Linked DNA regions of Homo sapiens: regions 1 and 3 are each linked to region 2. Evidence: promoter capture Hi-C in 16 types of primary human blood cells and fetal thymus (Javierre and others, 2016). All regions are on one chromosome and are shown on one strand. The core of a region is centred on a gene start or on the middle of the fragment in contact, and the rest is flanking DNA. Distances in the headings are between cores, read along the strand shown.

Evidence for each region. The method cuts DNA at HindIII sites, captures the fragments that hold promoters and counts their contacts. A CHiCAGO score of 5 or more calls a contact.
Region 1: the fragment with the promoter of GNA11 here is called in contact with a fragment that was not itself captured in region 2 in 3 of 17 cell types (total B cells, M0 macrophages and naive B cells); the score reaches 6.2 in total B cells.
Region 3: a contact is called between the fragment with the promoter of GNA15 here and a fragment that was not itself captured in region 2, in 1 of 17 cell types (endothelial precursors). The highest score is 5.5, in endothelial precursors.

The regions. Positions count from the first base shown.
Region 1 is chr19:3,093,024-3,095,723 of GRCh38, reverse strand. It overlaps GNA11 (G protein subunit alpha 11), which reads right to left and starts at 1,362. Exons shown (of 7, transcript NM_002067.5): 1 at 937-1,362. The coding sequence starts at 1,072. RefSeq lists enhancers at 1-569, 570-1,557 and silencers at 854-983, 1,304-1,423, 1,444-1,693. The HindIII fragment of the contact is 9,364 bases long and covers 1-2,700 here.
Region 2 is chr19:2,947,303-2,950,079 of GRCh38, reverse strand. No RefSeq gene overlaps it. Among named protein-coding and RNA genes, the nearest start is that of ZNF77, 3.7 kb to the right of the region's middle. The HindIII fragment of the contact is 2,883 bases long and covers 1-2,719 here.
Region 3 is chr19:3,134,609-3,137,308 of GRCh38, reverse strand. GNA15 (G protein subunit alpha 15) reads right to left here and starts at 1,276. Exons shown (of 7, transcript NM_002068.4): 1 at 714-1,276. The coding sequence starts at 858. The HindIII fragment of the contact is 24,748 bases long and covers 1-2,700 here.

The DNA.
Region 1 (2,700 bases), core at 113-2,612, 150 kb before region 2:
AAGCAAAGGCTCCCTCAGGTGTCAACCGCCCCACCCTCAGCTGAGCGGAACCCTGAGGAGAGGAAAGACTGTCTTTTTCCCACAGGGTGCATTCCAGCCAAGAGGAGTACGGGGTTTCCCGGAACAGGAAGGCAGGAGAATGGCCCTGAAGGGAATGTGGGGATAGGGGACACGGAGGAGTCTTCGGGGGGATGGGGGGGTGTACAGGGCCTGCATGGAGGGTACAGGGCCTGCATGGAGTGTACAGGGCTCTGCCTGGAGGGAAGGGTCAACGCGGGGCCCTGAGCAGTGAGGGGTGAGTGTGCCCTGTGGGTTACAGCCCAAAGGTCTGGCCCTGAAGGGGTAGCGAGGGGTGGGTACTCCGGTGGGGTAAGGTCAGAAGGTCCCTGTGCAGGGAGGGACTGGTCCCTTGAGAAGGAACAGAGGGCAAATCCTGAAGAGTCCTGGAGGCCCAATGTAGACAGCAGAAGCTGGGAGCTGACCTAGGAGTGATCGGGGGCCTGATCCAGACAGGACAGACACAGGCTGACACCGGAGAGTCCCAGGTGCCAACATGAACAGTTAAGGCAGGGGCTGACCCCAAAGAAATCAGGGGCCCGCAGCTGACCCCGGAGGGTCCCAGGTGCCGACCTAGACAGCAAAGGCAGGGCTGACCCCAGAGGGTCCCGAGCCGACCCAGACGACACAGGCAGGGCTGATCCCGGAGGGCCCCGCCCCGACCCGGACAGGCAGTGAAGGCACAGGCAGGGCTGACACTCGAGGGTCCCGCGACCCGGACAGGCAGGGAAGGCACAGGCAGGGCTGACCCCGGAGGGTCTCGCGACCCGGACGGCACAGGCAGGGCTGACCCCGGAGGGTCCCGGCCCGACCCGGACAGGCAGGGCAGGCACAGGCAGGGCAGGGCCCGCAGCCGGCAGGCCCGGGGGCCGCACTCACCGAGCAGCAGCAGCTTGAGCTCGCGCCGGGCGTCGCGCTTGTCCCGCCGCAGCTGCTTCTCGATCTCGGCGTTGATCCGCTTGGACTCCTTCACCTCATCGCTCAGGCAACACGCCATCATGGACTCCAGAGTCATCGTCCCGGCCCCGGCCGACGCGGCCGCCTGCCCGCCGCCGCCCCCCGGCCCCCGGCCCGGCCCTGGCCGGAGCCGCCTCGGCCGCCGCCCGCCGCGGCCCTCCGGCCTCGGCCACCGGCCCTCGGCCCCGGGCCGGCCCGCCCCGCCTCGGCCGCCGCCTGGCGAGCCGCCGGGTCCCCGCTCGGGCCGCGCCAGCCGCGGACTCCCGCGCGGCCGCACTCAGCCCGCGCCGCCGCCGCAGCCACCGCCAACCGCAGCCGCCGCAACCGAGCGACAGCGCCGGACAACCTAGCAGGCTGGGAGCGCAGCCCGCGACGGGCAGACGGTGCGGCCAATGGGAGGGGCCGGCGGCCAAGCGCGCCCACCATGGGGGCGGGACTAGCGGCCTGGGCGGGGCGTCGGCGGGCGCGAAAGGGGCGGGGCGGGGCGAGGGCGGGGGGCCCGCGGGTTTGGTTGCGCCGACGTGGGAAGGGGGACGCGCAGCCGGGAGCCGGGGCGGGGCCGCCCGGGATTGTGGGAATGTGGCGGACTCGGCCCGGCCAGGCTCGGCTCCGCTCGGCTCCGTTCGGCCCCGCTCGGTCCCGCTCGGCTCGGCCCAGGCGCGGTGGCGGAGGCGCGCACGCGGCCGCTGCGCTCTCTGGGTCTCCAGGTGCCTGGGCAGCAGTCGCTGCCCCCGGGAAGCGCCCTGACATTGCCTGACAGGAACCTTCACTCATCCATTAAAAAGCGTTAATGGAGGTCGGGCGCGGTGGCTCACGCCTGTAATCCCAGCACTTTGGAAGGCCGAGGCGGGCGGATCACCTGAGGTCTGGAGTTCGAGACCAGCCTGACCAACAGGGAGAAACGCCGTCTCTACTAAAACTACAAAATTAGCCCGGCGTGGTGGTGCACGCCCGTAATCCCAGCTACTCGGGAGGCTGAGGCAGGAGAATCACTTGAACCCAGGAGGCGGAGGTTGCAGTGAGCCGAGATCACGCCATTGCACTCCAGCCTGGGCAACAAGAACGAAACTCCGTCTCCAAAGAAAAAAAAAAAAAAAGAGGGCCGGGCGCGGTGGCTCACGCCTGTAATCCCAGCACTTTGGGAGGCCGAGGCGGGTGGATCACGAGGTCAGGAGATCGAGACTATCCTGGCTGACACGGTGAAACCCCGTCTCTACTAAAAATACAAAAAATTAGCCGGGCGTGGTGGCGGGCGCCTGTAGTCCCAGCTACTCGGGAGGCTGAGGCAGGAGAATGGCGTGAACCCGGGAGACGGAACTTGCAGTGAGCTGAGATCATGCCACTGCACTCCAGCCTGGGCGACAGAGCGAGACTCTGTCTCAAAAAAAAAAATTAAAAAGCGTTAATGGGACACCTACTGTGTATCAGGCATTAATGGGACACATTCTATATGCCAGGCACGGACCAGAGATTAATGGAGTGCCTGCTGTCCATCAGGTGTCAATCAGGCCTTACTGCAGTGCCTGCACCATTCCAGGCCAGGTATACGCATTCATGAAATGCCTACAGGATACCAGGCACTGCTGTAAGCCCGTTAAGCTAACCCTACCCAAGGGATATCTTTTTTTTCTTCTTCTTTTTTTGAGATGGAGTCTTGCTCTGTCGCCCAGGCTGGAGTGCAGGGGC
Region 2 (2,777 bases), core at 29-2,528:
CAGACCCTCCGGCCGGAAAAGGGAAGTTTATTCTTACTGATAAAATGTCAATCACTGTGTATGATTGTAATGGGCAAGGAAGGCATTTAGCGAGCTAGAAGACATTGATGGCTCAGAAAAAGGTGTCCTTGGCAAAAATACTGTTTTCTGTTAATTTTCCAACTGATACCATCTGGGTCTGTCCTCCCAGCCTGATGAATGTGTAGGCAGATACTTTCTCAGTCGGAGTTGATTTTTATTATCTTGATTGCTGCATCCTGTGCACAGAGGTTTTCTGCTCAGCTGGGCTTCATCCTGGGGTCCCAGTCCTGGCCCCAAGCCTTAATCAGCTCTCGGGTGATATTAGGCAAGTTGCCAAGCCCCTAAGTGCCTCAGTTTCCAGGTCTGTAAAATACATAACATTACCTGCATTTGTCAAATAGTGCTGTGTGTGGATTATTATTGGCAGCTCATCATCACCATTATCACCCTCCTGTAAACGTCTTGGACCCCTTAAGTGAAGACAGCAGGGTTACGGCGGATAAAATGATGGACTTCAGAGAAAAGACTCTAAGACCAAATAGAGTCTAAAGCAGTGATTATCAAAGAGGGGAGGAGAAATTTTACGCCCAGGGGACACTGGACAATGTCTGCAGACTTGGTTGTCACAACCGGGGATGGGGTTGGGGCGACTGGCATCCAGTGGATGAGGAGGTCTAGGGTGCTGCTCAACACCCTGCAATGAATAGCACGCCAGTCTTTTGGATTTGAGCCCACCTTAATCTCATTTTAATCGAATTGCCTCTTTAAAGGCCTATCTTCAAATACCTTCTGAGGTACTGTGGGTTAGGCCTTCACCTTACGGATTTGTGGGGACGCAATTCACCCGTTAACGCTATACATACACAAAAATTCATAGACTACACCTCAAAAGAAAAATTCAACATGACCATATAATACTATAAAATAAAAGAAGATGCAATACCTGGTTTGGGGTTGGATCTTCGGAGGACCAGCTGTAAAGACCATTTGGGGTATAATTGAAGGAAATACGATTATGGGCTAGGTATAAAGGAATGATTGTTAACTATCTAAAGTGCGAATATGAAGTGTGGACTTTTAGATAAAAATACAGATTTTTCTCTAAAATAGCATTTGGGAGGTGTTTAAGAGCAGAGTGTTACAGTGTCCTCAATTTACTTTTTTTTTTTTTTTTGAGACGGAGTCTCGAGCTGTCGCCCAGGCTGGAGTGCAGTGGTGTGATCTCGGCTCACTGCAGCCTCCACCTCCCGGGTTCAAGTGATTCTCCTGCCTCACCCTCCCGAGTAGCTGGGACTACAGGTGCCCGCCACCACACCCAGCTAATTTTTGTATTTTTAGTAGAGATGGGGTTTCACCATCTTGGCCAGGCTACTCTTGAACTCCTGACCTCGTGACCCGCCTGCCTCGGCCTCCCAAAGTGCTGGGATTACAGGCGTAAGCCACTGCCCCCAGCCACTCAATTGACTTTGAAATAATTCTTTTTTTTTTTTTTTTTTTGAGACAGAGTTTTGCTCTGTTGCCCAGGATAGAGTACAATGGCGTGATCTCAGCTCAACGCAAGCTCCGCCTCCTGGGTTCACGCCATTCTCCTGCCTCAGCCTTCCGAGTAGCTGGGACTACAGGCACTCGCCACCACGCCCAGCTGATTTTTTGTATTTTTAGTAGAGACGGGGTTTCACCATGTTAGCCAGGATGGTCTTGATCTCCTGACCTTGTGATCCGCCCAACTCGGCCTCCCAAAGTGCTGGGATTACAGACGTGAGCCACCGCACCCTGCGACTTTGAAATAATTCTATGTAGATATTGGCTGTCAGTCGGCTAGAACAATTGATCAGGAAACATCTCTGTCTTCACAAATTACCTGATATGTTGAGTAATGTGAGTATAACACGAATTTCATATTTGTTTATGTTCAGTTTCAACCCTAAGAAACACTAAGTGAACAGAAGAAATTGCACATAACTGAAGAGTCTGGTAGGAAAACAGAAAATGCGCGCACACACCTCAAATACCAAGTCACACTGTTTCCTCTGCTTTAAAACTTAACATTAGATTTCCGACAACCCTCTCTCCACCACTGCATACTAACTCTGGAAATTTAGATTCCCTTGCCCAATTCCACAAGCAACCTTTGGATCTTCTGCAAGGTACGTTGCTACATTTATTATAGTATTTATGTGTTTCTTTTCCTTTTTTTTTTTTTTTTTTTGAGACAGAGTTTTGATCTTGTTGCCCAGGCTGGAGTGCAGTGGCATGATCTCGGCTCACTGCAACCTCCACCTCCTGGGTTCAAGTGATTCTCCTGCCTCAGCCTCCCGATTAGCGGGGGTTCCAGGCATTTGCCACCATGTCCAGCTCATTTTTGTATTTTTAGTAGAGATGGGGTTTCTCCATGTTTGTCAGGGTGGTCTCGGACTTTGGACCTCAGGTGATCTGCCCACCTTGGCATCCCAAAGTGCTGGGATTACAGGCGTGAGCCACCGCGCCCGGCCTATTTATGTGTTTCTTAATGATGTAAGGTGAAAAGCTGTGCTACTGTTTACTTCTTCAGGGACTCTGATAATAGGCATGTTTTTCTTTCCTGTCTTTTGTTCCCACTGCTTCCTCTCTGACAGTTATTCCACTGTTTCCTATCACTTCCAATTTCTTTGTAGTTTCCTTGCCTCTTATCTTTGACACAATGTGAGTATCCTAAGCTTCATTAATATCCATTGATGAAGGCTGAGGCAAGCGGATCACTTGAGGTCAGGAGTTCC
Region 3 (2,700 bases), core at 27-2,526, 190 kb before region 2:
ATGGAAGCCATCACCCTGTTTTGTTTTCTCCTAGATAATTCTTGTTGCCAGAATTATTTTATCTGCTTATGAGTTTACAGACTAAATGTCTTGGCTCCTTCACAGGAAATGAGATCCAGGAAGACAGAAATATCTTCCCCTGTTTGGCTGCCTCGTTCCTGGGAGCTACCCAATAAATCTTAAATGAATGAATAATGAATGAATGAACCAATGAACCAATCAATCCATCCTTTCTAGCCCCCAAAGGAGCCCTAGACAAGCCCTCTCCAGCCATGGCAGGGAGGTAAAGGCGAGAGGGAGCGTCCTGGTGAAGGAGAGGCTGGAGCCGGCCCCTCCCTTACGGGTGGGCTGGCCAGAACGGGTTGCACACCTGAGCTCATCATTCCCTCGCCATGACACAGACAGGTAGGGCGTGCTGGGCCTGCCCGGCAGGGGCCCGGTAGAGCCACGTCTGCTATTGTATATGCCCCACACAGTGGACAGGCCTGGGCACCTGGCCGCTGGTCGCACGTTGGACAAGGAACTTGGCTTCTCTGAACCTCAGTCTTTCTCATCTGGAAAATGGGTTCCAGGCTCCCCATTCCCTGGGAGGAGGCGACGGCTCCACGATGCCAATGTCTGACCTAGCCTGATCCGCCTCCTTGCCCCGACACCCCTGCCGGCTGGCCACCGCCCACTGCCCACCACCCACCGCCCACCGACCCTGGACTCACCCAAAAGCAGCAGCTTCAGCTCCCCGCGGTCCTGCTTCTTCTGCTCCAAGAGGATCCTGTTGATCTCCTGGTCCACCCGGGCGGCGGCCTTCTCATCCTCCGTCAGGCACCAGGGGCAGCAGCGCCAGGTCAGCGAGCGGGCCATGGTGCGGTGGCCTCAGTCGGCACCGGGTGGCATCGCCCCCGGGCCCCTGCTGGCCAGGGCAACCCCCAGCCCAGCCGGCCCTGGAGAGGGCTCCGGGCAACCGGGTGCGCAGGGAGGCTGCCTTTTCCTTGGGGGTCACCCCCCAGGGACCTAGACTTCCTTGCCTGAAACACCCAGGAAGCCCGGCTCGGCGGTGGCAAGGCTTGAGTGCTGGGAACAGGGTGGGGACGGGAGGAGGTGGGGAGGCCAGGGCTCCCCGCCCACCTCCAGACCTGCTCAGACCCGGCCCGACAGGTTGACGGTGAAGGGTGCCAGGAGAGGGTGAGGTGGGGGCCCCAGGGAGGGCGGGGCGGTGGCGGGAAAACCCCCACCGCAGACTGGGTCCTGTGTGACCAGCAGGGCCCTTCTTCCTCCTTCTGGAGAAGGGGCGGATTCTCCTCAGGCTTCACCCGGAGCTGTCCCCCTCCTCGGAGCCAATCAGGAACCGTCAGACCCGTGCTACTGCTGATACATTATATATATATCATATATATATGTGTGTGTATATATATATATGTGTATATATATATATATATATATATATATATATATATATATATATATATATTTTTTTTTTTTTTTTTGAGACAGAGTTTCACTCTTATTGCCCAGGCTGGAGTGCAGTGGCAGGATCTTGACTCTGCAACATCTGCCTCCCAGGTTCAAGCAATTCTCCTGCCTCAGCCTCTCGAGTAGCTGGGATTACAGGCATCCACCACCACGCCGGGCTAACTTTGGATTTTTAGTAGAGAAAGGGTTCCACCACGTTGGCCAGGCTGGTCTCAAACTCCTGACCTCAGGTGATCCACCCGCCTCGGCCTCCCAAAGTGCTGGGATTGCAGGCATAAACCACCACGCTCGGCCCTTCTGATATATTTTTAAGAAACAGCTCAGGCCAGGTGTCATGGACTGTTTCCAGCGACTCTGCCCTGACCTCAGGTGATCCACCCTGCAGAGGTGGGCAGCTTGCCTGAGGTCAGGAGTTCGAAACCAGCCTGGCCAACATGGCGAAACCCTGTCTCTACTAAAGATACAAAAATTAGCCGGGTTTTGGCTCACATTAGCTGGTTTTACACTCACATCACCCTGTATAGTTACTACTGTCATCCCTGTTTGACTGATGAGGAGGTTGAGGCATAGAGCAGGGGAGTGACCGGTGGGGCTGGCACAAGGCAGAGCCGGGAGCCTATCCCTCACCTGCGGGGCCCCAGAGTCTAGACGCCTACCAGGCAGATTCCAGGCAGGGCCATCCCTTCATTGTGCGTGCATTCATGGAGCGCCAACTGTGTGCCAGGCACGGTAGCCAAGAGACACAGATCCCAGACCTCCTTACCTAAGGTTCTAGTTAAAGAACAGATAATAAAATAAATTTTAGGCTGGGCCTGGTGGCTCACGCATGTAATCCCTATACTTTGGGAGGCCAAGGCGGGCAGATCACAAAGTCAAGAAATCGAGACCAGCCTGGCCAACACGGCGAAACCCCGTCTCTACTAAAAATACAAAAATTAGCCGGGCGTGGTGGTGCACGCCTGTAGTCCCACCTACTTGGGAGGCTGAGGCAAGAGAATCGCTTGAACCCGGGAGGCAGAGGTGGCAGTGAGCTGAGATCGTGCCACTGCACTCCAGCCTGGCGACGAAGTGAGACTCCATCTCAAAAAAAATAAAAAATAAAAGAATAAAAAATTTGGCCAGGTGAGTGCGGGAGCTCACATCTGTAATCAAAGTACTTTGGGAGGCCGAGGCAGGAGGATCACTTGAAGTCAGGAGTTTGAGACCAGCCTGGCCAACATGGAGAAACTCCAT